2 separate regions of the Homo sapiens genome follow, and region 1 is linked to region 2. Evidence: promoter capture Hi-C in 16 types of primary human blood cells and fetal thymus (Javierre and others, 2016). All regions are on one chromosome and are shown on one strand. The core of a region is centred on a gene start or on the middle of the fragment in contact, and the rest is flanking DNA. Distances in the headings are between cores, read along the strand shown. Region 1 overlaps ZDHHC13 (zDHHC palmitoyltransferase 13). Region 2 holds the start of RPS13 (ribosomal protein S13).

Evidence for each region. Contacts are between HindIII fragments. The CHiCAGO score rates a contact against its expected background, and 5 or more counts as called.
Region 1: a contact is called between a fragment that was not itself captured here and the fragment with the promoter of RPS13 in region 2, in 1 of 17 cell types (total CD8 T cells). The highest score is 5.1, in total CD8 T cells.

Annotation. Positions count from the first base shown.
Region 1 is chr11:19,118,188-19,122,745 of GRCh38, forward strand. The region is part of intron 1 of ZDHHC13 (zDHHC palmitoyltransferase 13); the gene reads left to right. Among named protein-coding and RNA genes, the nearest start is that of ZDHHC13, 3.3 kb to the left of the region's middle. The HindIII fragment of the contact is 726 bases long and covers 2,768-3,493 here.
Region 2 is chr11:17,075,854-17,080,285 of GRCh38, forward strand. RPS13 (ribosomal protein S13) reads right to left here and starts at 1,814. Exons shown (of 6, transcript NM_001017.3): 1 at 1,766-1,814; 2 at 1,576-1,624; 3 at 1,315-1,393. The coding sequence starts at 1,788. SNORD14B (small nucleolar RNA, C/D box 14B) reads right to left here and starts at 15; the gene lies at 1-15. RefSeq lists an enhancer at 1,848-2,047. The HindIII fragment of the contact is 8,959 bases long and covers 1-2,615 here.

The sequences.
Region 1 (4,558 bases), core at 1,881-4,380, 2.0 Mb after region 2:
ACTAAAGCTGTCTTCAGCTGGAATCAGTTAGGCGGTAGATTCTCAGTTTGGGATGATTGGATTACCTGATCTCTAAAAACGTTTTTCCAGTCCCGAGAGTGTTCCTCATGCTTTCCCTTTCCCTTCTTTCAGCACGATCTTGTGTAGGTTTAAGTGAGGGACAAGATGTCTGGGGAAATGTCAAGGTGTTCTTATTGGTTATTCTTGAATTTTAACAGAAAAAAAATAGTTCTCAGGCAGACTGGATTTTACCAAAGGGTGTTGAATCTTCACATGGAAACAGCGCCTCATTCTTTTTCTCAGAGAGGCTCAAAGAAAAGTTGGTAGGAGTAACTATTATGTCTTAATTACTGCCACTCATTTACAGAAGGCTTCAAGTGCTTAAAGTTCACTCTCTCATGCTGAAGGGAAGATTAGCCTTGTCCCAGTTCCATGGCCTATAGAGAGGGAGAGAATGATTTGGTGGTTGAATTTAGTAGGGAAAGGTAGAGAGATCATTGTCGTTGTTAATAATAATTGCTCTTGTTCACTTTTTCAGTAATGTGAAGACCTCACCTATATATACTGCTTTGCAGTTTGCAAAATACTTCCCCATTTTTGATCCTCACTATAATCCTCTGAGGTGGGGAGAAATGATTATTCTGATTTTAGAAATGAGAACAGAGGCTCAGAAAACTGGAATCACTTGCTACAAGTCAAATAGCTGCTAAGTGATAGAGCCAAGACTTCAGTCGTTCATTCAGCAAATGTGTTTTGAATGTCTGCCAGGCACCGTTTTAGGTGCTGTGATAAATTAGTGAACAAAACAGACAAAAACATTACTGCTCTCATTGAATTTGGTTCTTTTGATTCCAAGATCGGTGCTGTTGGATTTTTGCCAGGATTTGCCTATACAATCAGGTCTGCAGTTTCCTTTCTGACCTCATCTTTTTTTTCTTTTTTCAGACAGAGTCTTGCTCTGTTGCCAGGCTGGAGTGCAGTGGCGCGATCTCGGCTCACTGCAATCTCCGCCTCCCGGGTTCATATGATTCCCCTGCCTCAGCCTGCCGAGTAGCTGGAACTATAGGTGCGGACCACCACACCCTGCTAATTTTTTGTATAGTAAGATGGGGTTTCACCATGTTGGCCAGGATGGTCTCGATCTCCTGACCTTGTGATCCGCCCGCCTCGGCCTCCCAAAATGCTGGCATTACAGGCGTGAGCCACCGCTCCCAGCCTGACCTCATCTTTTACTGTCTTGCTTGCCCGGTCATCCCCAGCCACACCAGCCTCAGAGTCTTTCATACTTACTTCTGGAATGCTCTTTCCTTGTGTGCCCACTTGGCTTATTCCCCCACCTCTTTAAAGTCTTGACACAAATGTCACCTCTGTGTGGCATTCTGTGACCCCCGTATTTAAAATTGCAAGCCTTTTCCATCATCAGCACTACCAGCAACACTCCCTGGCCTCCTTCCTTGCTTTAGATTTCTCCTCAGCATTTAACACCATTTAACGTACTTATTGGTCTTGTTTATTGTTTCTTTCTCCTCCACTGAATGTTAGTACTATAGGGACAGTGATTTTTGTCTGTTATGTTCACTGCTGTGTGCCTGGCATCTGGAACAATGCCTAGCACTGGTGAGTACTCTGTAAATACTTGTCAATGAATGAACTTGGAAACTAAACTCTGGTACTTCTGTTAATGAGAACTTTAATGACATGAGAACTTTTAATGAGTGTCACATATTTCTCTCTCACTCGCTCCTTCTCTCTCACTCTCTTTTTATTCGATAATCTGGCAGGATAATGCCTGTCATTGGAGTTTAAGTGTGGTTTTCTAAATCTTGATTTTGGCTTAAATTAATGCCCACTGTAACTTTAACAATTCTTATATACAATTTAGAAAAATAATCTCATTCATGACATCTCTGTGTGAGAAGTATTACATGATCCCTCAGAGCTTAAAGATGCCCTAGTTATTTATTGTGTAAGAAACCACCTCAAAACATAGTGGTATAAAACATGGCTTTGTCATGCTCATGGACTCTGTGTGTCAGGGACTTGGAGAGACTGCAGCAGGGTTGGTTTGTTTCTGTTCCACCATGTCTAGAGCCTCAGCTGCAAAGACTCATAAGCTGGAGATGAATTGAGAGCTGGGGCCAGTATCTATGAGTGTCTTCACTTACATCTGGCAGTTAACTTTCAGTAGAGACACCTACACGTGACCTGGGCCTCTGCACAGTATAGTGGCTGAGTTCCATTAGTGACCATCTAATGAAAGAGCCAGGAAGAAGAAGCTGCCAGTTTCTAGGGCCTGAGCCTGCAAACTGGCACAGCATCACTTCTGAAATATATTATTTGTGAGGTAGTCACAAAGCTCAGAGTCAAGAGGAAGGGACATAGACCTTTACCTCTTGATGGAGAAGTAGCAAATAATTTTGAGGCTATGTTGTAAAAATTACCACACATGTATTCATATGTCTGTTAGATAATTTTCATAATATCTTGTTCTGCTTTTCACTCTTCTGTGGAGGACAGTGAGCTAGCTACATATTTCTTTCTTGGTATCTCTCTTTTTTCCCTCTTTAAATTTTTTTTCCCTTTGTATCTTAATTAAAACAAAAACAACAAAAAAACCATTTTATTCTAGTATCTTGAGGTGGTTGTAGACTGGAATCCTAGGAAGACGAGAGGAAGTAAAATGGAATAGAATCATAGAATACTTGGAGCTGGAAGGCTTTTCAGTGAATTACCTAGTTGAGAGATTCTTAAACTGGCATATAGGATAAGCTTCAGGGCGTTAGTGAACATCTTGAAATTAGTGAACATCTTGAAAAGTTAGTTTACATGTGCAGTTGTGCATTTCTCTTAAGTAGAGAGGCCTTAATTTTGGTAACATTTTCAAAAAGGTCCATGACATTTGGAAGGTTTGAGAACCATTTATCTAGTCTAGCCCTTTAACTTTTCCCATGAATTCAAGACGCAAAAATAATAACTTACTTTCCAAAGGTTCATGGCAAGTTAGCAGAGCCCAGGTGTCAGGGCTCCTGATGCAGTGCATTTTCATTGCTAGTCAGGTGGTCCAGTCATGATACGATCTTGTTTGATTGTTTGCTGCCACTTGGAGTCCACCCATTCTTTAGGTCAAGGTCTGAGGAGTAGTCTGTATTTTACTCTGCTCTGAAAATGGGGAAGGGAGTATATCCCTAACTAGAATATAAGTTCCTTGAAAACCAAGGACCTTGTCTGTTGTTCATTGCCATGTTGCTGTGTCTACAATAGTGCCCAGCACGTAGTAGGCATTCAGTAAATGTCTAGAATGAATGTATTATGGAAGGAACTGTGTCTTATTCATCTTTTATCCCTGATTACCTACTTCTGTGATTTGTATAGGTGTTCTTTATATTTCCCTGAATGAATAATTGATGAAAACTCTTGGGAGTTGGCTGGCATCATGAGAATTTGCTTAGTCTGTTCTGTTACCTTAACATTGTAGGCAGCCATGTAGCAGTTAAGCTTCTTTATCCATGTAGTGTGTTTGTTCATACAGTAAATTCTTTACCAGTTCACAAGTCAATAGTGACTATTGTAATAGCTCACCTTAGGACCATGCAACATGAGACTTAGAAGGAGCTTTATGGGTGTATTGATATGTCCCTTTCACTTTACCAACGTAGAAATGAGCCAAAAATAGAGTAGATGATTCACCACTATCATACAGTCAATGTGGCAGTACCAGGAATTTGGTTATTTGGCCCGTGTCATCAGTGCAATCAGGAGAGATTAGGCTGAGAGAATACTGTGGAAGCAGGGACTCAATGTGTCTTCTTCCCTATCTTTTGAGACTCAAGGTTACCTGTCTTCTTCTCTGTTGTGTCCTTGCCCTCCTTTTCCTGACCTTGCTTCACAGAAAACTTCACAGAAAATAAAAATTTCAGCTCTCTTCTGTTTGAACATGGGGATAGGAGCTGGCGGCCAATTTCATATTGTCGTGGGTCATGTTATTGTAGGATTTGACATGTATTTCTAAATTATATTCATTAACTAATAGCTCAGTATATGTTCATGGCAAGATTTGAATTAAAGATGGTGGTTATAAATCTGCCTCAATTTAGCCTCTTGACAATTTTGAATTTTTTCCAAGGGGGTACTGACTTGTCAGATTGGATTAGATCATCTTTGTTTATACTTCATGTGTCTGATAAAGAGTTCCTGATCTGCTATTTTCTTATTTGCTTGTGCTTATTATTATTATTATTATTACCTCAATTCATGGCTTCTTTGTAGAAATCAGCTTAAGCTACTTGCTCATTTTGGGAGAGGTAATTTAGTTAAAATTTAACAATATAATTTGAAAATAATCTAATATATATTGTAAAATGCTGAAGGTCCTACTGTCAACTCTCTGTTTGTGGAAGCTTTCTCTGCCCTTAGGTTACCTTGTAAACAGAGTATAAGGAGTGACCTGCTTGGCATATCAATAAATGAGACTGCCATCGTTAAAAATTAGTAAAGCTTTCCTGCCAGCAGAGGTGTGCTAAAAAGAAAAAATAAATTTGGTAAAGCTTTAAAAACTCAA
Region 2 (4,432 bases), core at 564-3,063:
CCATCATCACAGTGAGCTTGCTGGAATACAGATGACCAAAGGGATTAATGAGATTCCACAGCTAACATTTACTGAGAACTCTGGTCAGATATTCTTCTAAAAACTTTACACGTTATTTCTTTTAAACCTCTAATGAGCTCTGACTACTTACAATCTATGACATATTTTCTTTTGATGTGTCATACCTCCAATTAGACTACAAGCTCCAGGAGTACAGATATTTTGCACCCCCCTCCCCCTTTTAAGAGGTGGGATCAGGTGGTGTGGCTCACGCCTGTAATCCCAGCACTTTGGGAGGCCGAGGCAGTGGATCATCTGAGGTCAGGAGTCTGAGACCAGCCTGGCCAACATGGTGAAACCTCGTCTCTACTAAAAATACAAAAATTAGCCGGGCGTGGTGGTGCGGCCTGTAGTCTCAGCTACTCCAGAGGCAGAGGCAGGAGAATTGCTTGCTTGAACCCAGGAGGCGGAGGTTGCAGTGAGCCGAGATCATACCACTGCACTCCAGCCTGGGTGACAAAGTGAGAATCGGTCTCAAACAAAAACACACAAATTAGCTGGGCCTGCTGGCGGGCGCCTGTAATCCCACCTATTCGGGAGGCTGAGGCAGGAGAATCGCTTGAATCCAGGAGGTGGAGGTTGCAGTGAGCTGAGATCGCGCCACTGCACTCCAGACTGGGCGACAAGAGCAAGACTGTCTCAAAAAAAAAAAAAAAAAGAGGTGGGGTCTCTCTGTCACCCAGGAGTGCAGTGGCTTCATCATAGCTCACTGCAGCCTGGGACTTCTAGGCTCTGGTGATCCTCTCACCTCTGCATCCCAAGTATCTGGGACTACAGGCACATTGCGGCTGGCTTTTTTGGGCGGGGGAGTCGGAGAGTAGTATGTTCTCAGGCCCCAGAACCATGTTCAGCACATAGAAGGTAAACATTTGCTGAATGAAGCCACTTGCACGAAGTCACACGCAGCTGAGATTCAAACCACACCTAACTGTGAGGAACTGTGTCAGGCACTCTGCTTAGCCAATTCCAACTCCTCCACTTGACAGCTGTGTGATTTGGGGCTGGTTAGTATCCAGCGGCAGTGTGCCTCTGCTTCCTCAACTGTAAACTGGGGTGAAAGCCATGAAGATTTATTTCAAAGTATTGTGGTCAGAATTAAACGAAATCAGTACATGTGAAGTGCTTACAATGATGCCTCTAGCACGGTGGCGAGACCAGAGTTTTGGCTATTTTTAAAATAACTTTACCACCTACTAGATCCTACAAGTCACACGAGGACAGGCGAAATAGGCTATGTTAGACACAAACACTCACCGATCTGTGAAGGAGTAAGGCCCTTCTTGGCCAGTTTGTAAATCTGCTCCTTCACGTCGTCAGATGTCAACTTCAACCACTGTTATGGAATAGAAAGCAGCCTTAGGATGAGAACCCAGGAATGGCGCCGCAGAACAGCGGTCTCTCCTTCCGCAAAACCGCGCTCCTCATACACGCAAGTTCCTCACCCTGGCGTCGCTTCACCCGAGACAAATGCCAACCCCCTCCCCGGATTCTCCCCGGTCCCAGCGCGCTACTTACAGTGGGGACGCTGCGTCGATAGGGTAAAGCCGACTGGGACAGGCCCTTCCTGGGGAGAGAAGCAGTCTCGAGGTGAGGTGGCGGCTAGTGCCAGAGCAGCCCAGAACATCATCCCCTCGGCCCGCTGCCCACACTCCCTGTCTTCCTCCCACCCCCCGCCCAGCAATCCGGCTTGATGCCCCGAGCTCACCCGGGAGCATGCATGCGACCCATGATGGCGGCGATCAGGCAACGAAAGGAGAGCGAGAGTGGAAACGCCGCAGGAAGCCACCCAACACGCAGGAAGTGACCTCACACGTCCCCGCTTCCTCTCACGCAGGAGGCGGAGCTACGCTGCGCAGCCACCGCCCGTCTGTGTGACTACATCTCCCGAAATGCATTTCAGCGTCGCAAGAGATCGTCAATCCAGCCTCATCCCGGCATGCATCGGTCTTTGGTCAGCCTTGTTGCCAGAGCGGGAATTTGAGGCTGACGCCAGCTTGCGTCGAAATTCCCTGTGGACGCCGAGATCACAAAGATTCGAATGCTGCGCTGGGGGTGGGTATGGAGCAGGTAGGGCTGGAAGAAGCAGCCATACACAGGTGTTTGCTCATTCACCAGTGCCTGGCTTTGTCCTGGCACTAGATCCCTCAGAGTCGGCCCTGCGCCTAATAAATTAACAGATACAATAGCATGTGATGAGGACCACACGGGAAGCCATGGCAGCGGCTACCGCCCAGCCAGCGCTTCCATTTCTCATTTCTAAATCCTACCCTAATCTGTCAGGGGAGAGTCGCTGACGGTGAAGAACCGGTCTAAGGAGTTGAACCAGGTCCCCACGGATGCCTGCCGCCCTCCGCACTCGAATTCCCCTGCGCAGGGCTCTGGGGCGCTGGGCTCGCCGGGGAGAAGGGTTGGGCAGAGGCTTACGGAGCTATGTTCCCAAGTGAGAGAGTTGGCGGGCAGGGAAGAGCCTTGGGAGCAAGACTGCAAAGGCCAAGAGGATGAGGGATAAAATGAAGCATTTGAATTTCATGGGAAAAGGGAACCGTCAAGGAAGAAGCTTTTTTTTTTTTTTGAGACGGAGTTTCGCTCTTGATTCGCAGGCTGGAGTGCAATGGCGCGATCTCGGCTTGCCGCACCCTCCGCCTCCCGGCTTCAAGCGATTCTCCTGCCTCAGCCTCCTGAATAGCTGGGATCACAGGCATGCGCCACCACTTCCAGCTAATTTTGTATTTTTAGTAGAGACGGGTTTTTCCATGTTGGTCAGGCTGGTCTTAAATTCCCGACCTCAGGTGATCCGCCCGCCTCGGCCTCCCAAAGTGCTGGGATTACAGGCGTGAGCCACCGCGCCTGGCCGGAAGAAGCTCTTTTAAGACAGACCTAGCCTGGGCAACATGGCGAAACCCCCTCTCTATAAATACAAAGAATTAGCCGGGCGTGCTCGCTCGTGCCTTTGGTTCCAGCTACGAAGGAGGCTGAGGTGGAGAATCTCTGGAGCCGGGAAGGACATTGCGGTGAGCCGAGATAGCACCACTGCGCGCCAGCCTGGGCAACAGAGCAAGACTCTGTCTTAAAAAAAAAAAAAAAAAAGGAAAGAAAGAAAAAGACTGACTCAGTGCCGGTACACAACAATGCGTTGAAAGAATGGGCAAATGAAGCAGCTTCTTAAAATTTTAAAAAGTAAGCATAGCTCTAGGAAGGAGGGAGGTCAGTGAAATCAAACTCCTGTCGACAAGCTTAAAGTAACTGGCAAGACGCTGGGAAACTAGATACTGAAACATCCGCTCTTAACTTTTAACCTGTCACTATTTGAAATAAAGTTATCAGGGATAGCCGGGCGCGGTGGCTCACGCCTGTAATCCCAGCACTTTGGGAGGCTGAGGCGGGCGGATCACGAGATCAAGAGATCGAGACCATCCTGGCTAACACGGTGAAACCCCGTCTCTACTAAAAATACAAAAAAATTAGACGGGCGTGGTGGCGGGCGCCTGTAGTCCCAGCTACTCAGGAGGCTGAGGCAGGAGAATGGCGTGAACCCGGGAGGCGGAGCTTGCAGTAAGCCACGATCGCACCACTGCACTCCAGCCTAGGTGGCAGAGCGAGACTCCGTCTCAAAAAAAAAGTATCAGGGATAAAGAGAGAACCCTTTATAACAACAAACGGGTCAGTTCTCCAAGAAAACAACACCCCTCCCCCCCAAAAAAGCCATAATCTGTCACTATTTGATTAATAACTTTTCCCAAAGCATTAGGAATTTTAGTCAAATCGGGTACCCTATTTGGGTAATGTTTTTTTCTAGCAAAGTTTATCATTAGCCAATTTTACATTTTTAGTTCAGATATGGAATAGGTATCTCAAATTTAATATGACTCCAATTCCCAAACCATGCCCCTTTGTTTCAGTTAAACACGATCCTGTTTGCTCAAACTTAATACAAACCTAGGCATCTCCGTTTTTCTCTGATTTCCCTCTGTCATCCCAGCTCTACCACAAGAATGTATCATGAATATGTTCCCTTTGCCCCATTTCCACCTTCAGTCCCAGCCACCATCACCTCCTATCTGGGCAACTCTGTAGTATCCACACCGTCTGGTCACGTCCCCACTCTAAACACAACCCACTCTCCACCTAGCAGTCAGAGTGATCCATTAAATACATAAAGCAGATTAATTCATTGCTCCCCTGTGTAAATCCCTCCCATACTTTCTCAATGCACCTAAGATCCAATCCCTGGACCCACGTCTTGCCACTATCCCCCGATTCTAAACGCTCTAACCGCACTTACTCCTTTCTGACTCTACAAGGTAGCAATGTGTTCCTTTCCTGCTTAGAGCCCTTCCTCTTGCTGTTGGCACTGCCTGAAGTGCTTGCTCTT